Regions from separate parts of the Homo sapiens genome. Here region 2 is linked to region 1. Evidence: promoter capture Hi-C in human tissues and cell types (Jung and others, 2019). All regions are on one chromosome and are shown on one strand. The core of a region is centred on a gene start or on the middle of the fragment in contact, and the rest is flanking DNA. Distances in the headings are between cores, read along the strand shown.

Region 1 (5,401 bases), core at 764-3,263:
TCTGTTCACTGGACATTTTATTTCCCTCCTCTAGAATTGCCTGTCTCTTCGTACATACTTTTGTCTACTGTTTCTACTCAATTAACTATATTTTTATTAATGATTTGTAGTTCTTTTGTTTTTTCTTTTGAGACAAAGTCTTGCTCTGTTGCCCAGGCTGGAGTGCAGTGGTGCAATCTCAGCTGACTGCAACCTCCACCTCCCAGGTTCAAGAGATTCTCCTACCTCAACCTCTTGGGTAGCTGGGATTACAAGCGTCCACCACCACACCTGGCTCATTTTTGTAATTTTAGTAGAGTCGGGGATTCACCATGTTGGTCAGGCTGGCCTTGAACTCCTGACTTCAAGTGATCCTCTTGCCTTGGCCTCCCAAGGTGCTGGGATTATAGACATGAGCCACCGCACCCAGCCTAGTTCTTTATATATTCTGAATATTATTCCTTTGTCAATTTATATGTTGCATATATTTTCCAAATCTGTTACTTATTTTGCTTATAACGGTTTTGTCACCCAGAGGCCTTTAAATTCTAATGCAGTCAGCTTGTTGTCTTTTAATAATGAAAATATAAGAACTATACAAATATGCGGGCGGAAGATGGCAAAGGGAGCTGGTGCTTGTGCAAGTTGTTGAGGTGTGCTCTGTGGAATGATGGCTGTCACAGACACTGTCAAGCAGGAGGTTGCCCTGGCTGTGCACATGCTGCAAAGCATGCATGTGAACGTGATTCTGATCACGGGGGACAACTGGAAGACAGTCAGAGCCTTTGCCACCCAGGTTGGCATCAACAAAGTCTTTGCAGAGGTGTTGCCTTCACACAAGGTGACCAAGGTTCAGGAGCTCCTGAATGAAGGGAAGAAAGTCGCCATGGTGGGGGACGGGGTCAATGATTCCCTGGCCTTGGCCCAGGCAGACTTGGGCATTGCCACTGGCACTGGCACGGATGTGGTCATCGAGGCAGCCAACGTCATCCTCATCAAAAATGATTTGCTGGATGTGGTGGCTAGCATTCATATTTCCAAGATGACTGTCCAGAGGATATGCATCAAACTGGTCCTGGCGCTGATTTATAACCTAGTGGGCATACCCATTGCTGCAGGAGCAAGCTTTCCAGATGAGTTGAAGATATGTGCATGGGCGGGAGATGATGACTTATTGCAGGGCAAGGCGTCATCCGTGTTGAAGGAGTGCCAGTGTTTCAGAAATGGACACAGAGCAGGTAAGTTTGATGGACAGGTAAGAGAATCACTCTCTATGTGCCAGCACTGTTCTAAGAGTCCTGGATCTTCTGGGGATGAGATTAGCGTTTTTCAGTTGTACATGGGACAGCTGAGGCTCATGCTAGGGAGTGGTGAGCCCTTTCCTGGAAGAAGTTAATCTAAAAAGCATAATCTGTCTCATTTGGGAGGAGCTAAATAAATATCTCTTCAATGAAGCAAAGGTCAATCAGAAAATTTGTATTTTAGCTATAAAATTACCTATCAGAATTTACCATAGGGCATAATCTTAGTCAAGCACCCAAATTCATTATTTCAGCCACAGATACTGAAACACCAAAGGGATAAGGGGGCAGGTATTTCAGTTAGCTACTGCTGCATAACAAATGACCCCAAAGCTTAGTGACTTAAAACAATGATTTGTTATTCCTTATCATTCTGTCAGCTGGGAGGTTCTTCTGCCCGCCCCACCTGGGGTCATGCACAAGGCTACATTTAGCTAGGGTGTCAGCTTGGGATGGGCATAGCTGGGATGCTGGGTCACCTGAGTCTTTCTCACCATGTGGTACTGTTTTAAAATATAGGTTTTAGCGCTTCCTCAGGATGTAAAGTGTAACAAAGGTACCGGGGTGGGCAGTGTGGGTCTGTGAGGCCTACGGGTGCCCGCGTCCCCTAACTCCCCCCGCAGCCGGCTCCGCAGTGGTACGCTCCGGTTGCCCGTTAGGGATTCAGGTTCCAAACGGAATGCTGCGTCTTCTCCAGCGTTTGTTGTGGCCGAGGTTACTGCAGCAACCGCCAGAGCAGCCTTGGCGCTACGGAGGAGCCTAGGGCTAACCCTCAGCCATACCTGGGGCTGGTCCTGGAGTTGCTACGCAGGGTTGTGGCAGCACTGACTGAAGGTATGAGACCCGATTCTCATCCTTATGGTTTTCCATGGGAATTGGTGATACGTGCAGCTGTTGCTGGATTTTTTGCTGTTCTCTTCTTGTGGAGAAGTTTTAGATCAGTTACGAGTCGGCTTTATGTGAGAAGAGAGAAAAAGTTTGCTGTGGCACTTTCTGGACTAATTGAAGAAAAATGTAAACTACTTGAAAAATTTAGCCTTGTTCAAAAAGAGTATGAAGGCTATGAAGTAGAGTCATCTTTAAAGAATGCCAGCTTTGAGAAGGAGGCAACAGAAGCACAAAGTTTGGAGGCAACCTGCGAAAAGCTGAACAGGTTCAATTCTGAACTTGTGCATGAAATACTCTGTCTAGAAAAAGAGTTAAAAGAAGAGAAATCTAAACATTCTGAACAAAATGAATTGATGGCGGATATTTCCAAAAGGATACAGTCGCTAGAAGATGAGTCAAAATCCCTCAAATCACAAGTAGCTGAAGCCAAAATGACCTTCAAGAGATTTCAAGCGAATGAAGAACGGTTGGAGATAGAAATACAAGATGCTTGGAAAGAAAATTCTGAACTTCAGGAAAGCCAGAAACAGCTTTTGCAAGAAGCTGAAGTATGGAAAGAACAAGTGAGTGAACTTATTAAACAGAAAAGAACATTTGAAGACTCCAAAGTACATGCAGAACAAGTTCTAAATGATAAAGAAAATCACATCAAGACTCTGACTGAACGCTTGCTAAAGATGAAAGATGGGGTTGCTATGCTTGAAGAAGATGTAACGGATGATGATAACTTGGAATTAGAAATGAACAGTGAATCGGAAGATGGTGCTTACTTAGATAATCCTCCAAAAGGAGCTTTGAAGAAACTGATTCATGCTGCTAAGTTAAATGCTTCCTTAAAAACCTTAGAAGGAGAAAGAAACCAAATTTATATTCAATTATCTGAAGTTGATAAAACAAAGGAAGAGCTTACAGAGCATATTAAAAATCTTCAGACTGAACAAGCATCTTTGCAGTCAGAAAACACACATTTTGAAAGTGAGAATCAGAAGCTTCAGCAGAAACTTAAAGTAATGACTGAATTATATCAAGAAAATGAAATGAAACTCTACAGGAAATTAATAGTAGAGGAAAAATGCCGGTTAGAGAAAGAAGAGAAACTTTCTAAAGTAGACGAAATGATCAGCCATGCCACTGAAGAGCTGGAGACCTACCGAAAGCGAGCCAAAGATCTTAAAGAATTTGAGAAAACTATTCATTTTTATCAAAAGAAGATTATTCTCCATGAGAAAAAAGCACATGATAATTGGTCGGCAGCTTGGACTGCTGAAAGAAACCTCAATGATTTAAGGAAAGAAAATGCTCACAACAGACAAAAATTAACTGAAATAGAGTTTAAAATAAAACTTTTAGAAAAAGATCCTTATGGACTTGATGTTCCAAATACAGCATTTGGCAGACAGCATTCCCCATATGGTCCCTCACCATTGGGTTGGCCTTCATCTGAAACGAGAGCTTCTCTCTATCCTCCAACTTTGTTGGAAGGTCCTCTCAGACTCTCACCTTTGCTTCCACGGGGAGGAGGAAGAGGCTCCAGAGGCCCAGGGAATCCTCCGGACCATCAGATTACCAAAGAAAGAGGAGAATCAAGCTGTGATAGGTTAACTGATCCTCACAGGGCTCCTTCTGACGCTGGGCCCCTGGCACCTCCGTGGGAACAGGACTATAGGATGATGTTTCCTCCACCAGGACAATCATATCCTGATTCAGCTCTCCCTCCACAAAGGCAAGACAGATTTTATTCTAATTGTGCTAGACTCTCTGGACCAGCAGAACTCAGAAGTTTTAATATGCCTTCTTTGGATAAAATGGATGGGTCAATGCCTTCAGAAATGGAATCCAGTAGAAATGATACCAAAGATAATCTTGGTAATTTAAAGGTGCCTGATTCATCTCTCCCCGCTGAAAATGAAGCAACTGGCCCTGGCTTTGTTCCTCCACCTCTTGCTCCAATCAGAGGTTTATTGTTTCCAGTAGATACAAGGGGCCCGTTCATAAGAAGAGGACCTCCTTTCCCCCCACCTCCTCCAGGAACCGTGTTTGGAGCTTCTCCAGATTATTTTTCTCCAAGGGATGTCCCAGGTCCACCACGTGCTCCATTTGCAATGAGAAATGTCTATTTACCGAGAGGTTTTCTTCCTTACCGTCCCCCAAGACCTGCATTTTTCCCCCCAGCCCCCACATTCTGAAGGTAGAATGAGTTTCCATCAGGGTTGAGTCCGACTTCAAATGAGCCTGCTGCTGAACATCCAGAACGACAGCAAGAAACCTAACAACATGTTTGCCCTCTTCAAAAGTAATTTTGACTGATCTCATTTTCAGTTTAAGTAACTGCTGTTACTTAAGTGATTACACTTTTGTTCAGATTGAAACTTAATGGAACTATAATTCCCAGGATAGTATTTTGTAAATGAGGATGATTTAAATATGAATCTTATGAGTAAATTATTTCATTTTATTTTATTCTAGATAGTATAACTTTTAATTTGATTAATCCACTATTATATAAAGAATGGTGGGAGCTTTATATATGTAATCTTGCAGGTGGGGAGGCTTTAAATTGTCTTTATGTCAAGAACTGTATTTACTGTGGTTGTAGACAAATGTGAAAGTAACTTTATGCTTAAATAAGTTTTAGTTGATTAAAAAAATTTAAAAAATTTAAAAAAAGAAATATATAAATATGCACAGGTGGGAAGGTAGAATACTATGTAACTGTTAGAATATTTCACTTTAAACCAAGATGATCTTGGATCTCCTGTCTTATAGATTTTATATCCTCTTTCAGTACTTTGAGAGTGTAAAACATTTATAGCAGAAAGTATTCGTGTTTCCTCTGTTTTCCTCAAGAATGGTTTCTTCGCCCTCCCTTTCCTTCCCTTCGTCTTCCCTAAGCTAATTTCTTCCTATGTTTGTCATCATATCATTACATAATTGTGTTGTTATTTCTTTTGTTTTATTTTTATTTGGTGGGAACAACTTTATCCAGAACTTTTACTTGCCCCAGAATTATATAGATCAGTTTCTCCTGACTTCTTTCCCAACCTTTACCTCTGTTGGTGTTCTAATAGTTTTAGTTTTATGTTCTGCTTTTCTCTTGCTGTGGCAAGGGGAAGGAGTAAATCTAAGATAGTGCTTAATTGCAGTTGGTGAATTTGATCTCTGATTGAGCTCTCTTCTCTGGAATTCTGTTAAAAGATGAAATGTATCGTGTTCCCTGAGAGACGCCCTCAAAT
Region 2 (5,401 bases), core at 886-3,385, 130 kb before region 1:
TTGCTTCCAGATGTTCTGGCTAAAACACTTAGAGTCATCTTTGACTCCTCTTTTTCTCTTACACACCACATCCCATCTGTCAGGAAATTTTGTTGGTGCTTCCTTTGAAATATATCTGGAATATGTCCCCTCTTATTACCTCCACTGCTTCTACCCTGGCCAGACCACCATGATTCCTTCCAGGATGATTGCAATAGCTGTATCCCTGCTTCTTCCCTTGTACTTCTAAAGTCTACCCATAACACGGATCCTTTAAACTTATGTCATCTCATGTCACTTCTCTGCACAAAACTCTCCAATAGTCCCCATCTCACTCAGGGTAAGAGACGAAAGTCTTTACAATGACTTCCAAGGCCTTCCATGACCTGGCCCCTATAACTTCTCTGATTTGATCTCCTTCTATGAAATGAGATACCCACTTTTCCTACACCCAGGAGTTCCTATAGGAGAGGAAGGAACATTCCTTTGACACATTTGTTCAACAGGTGTTTTCTGAGCAGCTCTTCTGTCCCAGGCACTGTGCTGAGGTTGTGCAGTGAACAAGATCACTCTGCCCTGACTCACGGTGCTTGCAGCAAATAATGGGGGCGTCTCAACAGTGATGAGGCAAGTCCTGGTTTCTAGTTATGTTATTTCTCTTAGGGAGGGGATGAGCAAGGTTTGGAGAAAGAAGGGAGGTTTCCCCAGTCATGTCATAGAGGAATGGGGTTAAGTTTTAAGGTTTCAACCTCTAATCTGGAGCCTTCTGAAACTTATAGAGCCTTCTGTGTTCTAAGATCCCAAGAACATAGGAGCAGAAACACTTTTCCAAATTGGCTTAAACACTCTCTCTTCCAGGATTTCTCTGTGACTCTGATTAAGAGAGAAAAAGAAGAAAGAGGAGGAAGAAGAGGAAGAGAAAAGTAGGGTAAAGGAAAGGCATTAACCCCCTACCCCGAATTCCAGTCCCCTAATCCAATGTGTTCAGGACATTTTAGCAAAGTTTTCCTAAATACTTTAAATTCATTGTCAGTGGGACTAAATCTAAGACAATTTTGCCGTGGGGACACTTGGCTCACTGTAGAGATATAACGGATCTAGCTCTGAAGGGACTTCACCAGTTTGCTGAGCATAAAAAACTAATTATGGGGCCTGATTAAGAAAAGTAGACATGTATGGCTTATTAACATAAAGTGGAGACTAATAATTGCTGATATGTGACTGATTCTGTGTTAGGTGCTTAACATGTCATGTTATTCCTTTCTCCCACCCTCTCTCCCTCCCTTCCCACATGATTATTGAGTGGTCTGGCACATGTCACTGAAGATACATTGCTGCCAACCCTTGTCCTCAAAGAGTGTGCTCTCAATTGGAAGAGACTGGCAGGTCCATGGGCAAGCCCAGTACGATGACATCCATGTGCTTATGATAGGGAGAGTACAAGGTATCGTGGCAGGACATAAGAGGGACCCCTATTCAGCCTTGTGGGCACAAAGGCTCTGGAGGGGTGATATCTAAATTTGGACCTGAAGCATGAGTAGCAATTAGTCAGATAAGAGGAGAGGAGACAGCAGGAAAAAAGCCAATTTCAGGCAGAGAGAACAACCTCTGCAAAGAACCGAAGATAAGAGCAAGTCAAGAAAGTCCGACGTGGCTAAAGGGAACTAAAGTGCCAGGAGCTGTGGAGACTAAAGATAGGAGGTAGAGTGGTAAGAAAGGAACTGACAAGAGCTTGGCAAGCCAGGGTAAGAAATACCCTGAGGGCACTGGGAAGCCATTTAAGCTGGGGAGAGGACCAAGCCCACTCGCTCTTGCCAAAGATCTTTCTGGAGGGAGTGTGGAGAATAGGCTGGGAGGAGAAGCCAAGGTGAGAGGCAAAGAGACTGCTGCGATGATCTAGGAGGAAATGATGGCACCTGATCTAGGGATGGAGACAGCTAGAAAATTTGAAAGAGTTGCAATCAAAAGGATTTGGCGATTTATTTGAGGTGAGAGTGGTGTTGGAGAAGAAGATATTAGGGAGATGCCTAAGTTTTCTGGCGATGCATGTGGCACCTTAGCTGAGTAGAAAACAGATCTGTGAGGCTGGAGGAAGCAAAGATGATTCTGGTTTTGGACATTTGATTGGAAGAGCCTGAGAATCATGGGAGAGAGTCTATGGATCCAGAGCTCAGGAGAGAAATGTGAGCAGAGAGAAAAATACCTAGAAGTTGTTGGCATAAGGGTGGCGATTAAATTGTGAGATTTATTTTTACAACAATCCTTAAGGCAGATATTACTACCCTTGTTTCCTGAGAAGGAAGCTGGGGTTTGGGAACCATAAGTAACTTGCTCAAAATCAGTCAGGGAGCAGGAGAGCGAAGGCTTTTAATCTGTGCATTTCTACTCTGCAACACTGCTTCTGTGTAAATGCATTTTGGATTTGGCCGTATTGCTTGTATGGAGTAGTTTTCTACCTCTAAGAATTCTGGAAAGCATTCCCTTTTTTTTTTCTTTCTTTCTTTCTTTTTTTTTTTTTTTTTTTTTTACAGGAACTCACATGAAGAAATGTCACTGTTTATAGCTTGAACATTCCTTTTCGGGGGCAAAGACAAAATACATCAACTTTTTAATGGAATTTCTTTTTGCCTGGACAGAATGATGCTTGGTCCTGGAAAGTATTATAAATGTCCTTCCAAGTGAGGCCTGCAGTGATGGCAAGCCTGGGTGTCATACTGACAACTTGCCCCCTTGTGTGTCCCCTCACGCTAGACATCTCACAGGAGTGTTGGCAGAAGCAGACAGCCCATCTCCCTCACTGATAGAGGCTGCCTCCAGGCCTGCTGGCTCCCTGTTCAGCTACCCCTCCTTCTGGGACACCCGCTGATGTCACTTGTCTCCTCTCTACGGGGATTTCCACTTTTTGCCCCACCTGACCCACAAATTCTACCTCCTTTCCTAGTCCACGTAGTGCCATAGTTGAAGGCTTTTCTAGTTTCCCATTCAGAGGGAAGCTGGATGTTTATTGCAGTGACCTCATCCCTCTTGGCGTCCTCCTCCCACCCCCACCCCCCCCCCAGGAACTGCCATTTTCATTTGCATGGCCTCAGGGGTCTTCCACTGTGGCGGACCTGCTTCGTAGCTGACACGAAGGCTCAAGCTCTAACCTCTCACACTTTCTCATATAACAGCTCATCTGCTTGTGGAATACATTTGTTTGTGATTACAGGCCGCATACAATACCACTGCACAGGGCCCATGTGATGGCCCGGCGCCATGAGAAAACACATTAGTAATTTTTTATGACCCTAGTGCAACCATGCAGGATTTCCCTAAAACAGAAAACATGAAGGGATTTTATTGTCTTGCACTATTTAGACATCCCTTATGGCTGATGCGTGTATATTGGAACTAACAGAACACAGGACTTCCCAGACATTTTGAGTTGAGAGGTTTCTGACTTCAGTTAGTGAACACCCCCGGTTTATCTACTCTGGGGGAAGTAAAACGCACAAGGAAATTAAAAACGAAAGGCATCAAGGTCTAGAATATTTTTCTCGGTATAACTAACTTCTGTTCTTAGATGAGTTACTCTTAACAAGTTACTTCTGAGAGTAATGTGAGATGATAAACACTGGAAGAGACTGACCGGTGAATCCCCAGGAATTCTCACTGCTCCTTTTGAAAAACTGTCCATTAGACAAGAGAGGATCTGGCATTCCTATGTTTTCTCTCTTTGTGTCTCTCTCTCTGTCACACACACACTCACACTCACACACATACACACACACACCATCCCGTGGTGATGTCCAAGAAGAAGATAGTAGGCCTTCATTGGGTCTACTTACATGGCCTTAAGAATAAGCATATATAATTCCTACGAGAAACTATTCCATTTTTGGCACTGTTGCTGGTGTTAAACGTCCACCCAGGAGTTTTTTTGACAAACTAGCAGGAGAGAACTCGAGCGATTCTAGCCCTCTCAGAGGAACTACATTGGAATGTTTTACTGCCTATCTATGAAGGACAAACTGACTCTGAATCTGGCTGCTCTGGGAGTGTGTTCCCGAGTGTCCAGGGAATGAATATAAGTCAGCCAAGAGTATGAGAAGGCAGCAGACACCATGGAGAGACAACTTGCCCTAGAAAACAGACCATAGGAAAGGCCTTAGGAAAAATGATGCTGCCTTTTGAATAGATAGCGCTAGTAGTTGGCATGACGGTGCCAACTATTCAAATCACATATAAATTCGGCTGCCTTTTTAAGCTGTATATCAGCCTTCAAAAATATGCATTCCATTCAGTGACAAAGGGTGAGAACCTGGCTGAGCACTTTTGTTTTAAGAGCCATGGGAAAAACATGGGAGACAAAGCAGAATAATAAAGGACAATAATATTTGGTTTTCACGTACAACTATGCTACGGTTATAGTAACAAATTTGCCAAGGTTCAAACAGATTTAACCTCCCTTTAAAAACTAATCTGTTGGTGAGATACTGTGGCAGGAAAAGCTGTTCATGTCATCTTATTCCTAACAGAATGGAAAAGACCGGTTTATATGGTTTTTGCTCCTCCCCCTCACCTGTAGCCTCCACTGGGATTGGGTGTGATTATTGTCTCTTGCTCACAGCTCACAGGGAACATAGGGTGGGCTCACCCTCAAATGTAAAATGATATTGATATGCAACATCAAATGTACCCTTGAAATGAAAGACTGATTTGTGTATTTCCTTTTTAATATTCCGACTCATACATGTTGCCATTTCTACTCACTAGTTACCCTGGAGACTATGTTCTGAATGCTATTATATAAACATTGAAAGATATCTTTATTTAACCAATCAAACATTGGAAGGAAGCACTAGCTCAGTCAATCCTGCCAAGCCATCACAAGGAGATCCTGCTGTAAGAAGGAACTGGGTCGATCTCAGGGGCTAACCCAAGGTTAGGCTTCAGGCTATCTGTGAATTTGCATCTCCTCCTTGGAGAAAGGATCTTGTACTTTTTGGATTCACTGCACTGGGGAGTGAAGTGAATCGCTAAACCTCAAGGGCACATCCAGAGACTAACTAATTAATCCCAGCATTAAGGGAAGACCTGTCCACATTCCGTACACTGGTGAGGCTCATTATATGGTGTATGTAGATGCAATTCATGAACTGGGATATGAAGTCGTGGCAACTTAATCTTGACAGTGTTGTAATGAATAAAGCATGTCCAAAGCTTGGTAGGTTAGGTGATACCTCTGCAAAGCATCACCATGAACCTACCAATGGAAGCACGTTTTAATTGTGTTTGGCTTCTTGTATCTCAGCTTTAGATCATGTAACCTGTGGAGAGCATCCATTGGTTGACATGTTTTGCTGAGTTATTTTGTAGTTTATGAGATGTGGAAGAAAGAAACTCGGCTCCCAGCTATTACCTAAGATTCACAGGGCTTTGC

What was found. The method cuts DNA at HindIII sites, captures the fragments that hold promoters and counts their contacts. A contact is called where the count stands out against the background at its distance.
Region 2: a fragment that was not itself captured here is called in contact with the fragment with the promoter of CTAGE1 in region 1 in 1 of the 25 tissues and cell types used here (mesenchymal stem cells).

Annotation. Positions count from the first base shown.
Region 1 is chr18:22,414,527-22,419,927 of GRCh38, reverse strand. It overlaps CTAGE1 (cutaneous T cell lymphoma-associated antigen 1), which reads left to right and starts at 2,013. Exons shown (of 1, transcript NM_172241.3): 1 at 2,013-5,401. The coding sequence starts at 2,117. The coding sequence ends at 4,354. It also overlaps the pseudogene ATP7BP1. The HindIII fragment of the contact is 3,989 bases long and covers 1,360-5,348 here.
Region 2 is chr18:22,545,727-22,551,127 of GRCh38, reverse strand. The region is part of intron 2 of LOC124904265 (a long non-coding RNA gene); the gene reads right to left. Among named protein-coding and RNA genes, the nearest start is that of CTAGE1, 130 kb to the right of the region's middle. The HindIII fragment of the contact is 8,698 bases long and covers 1-5,401 here.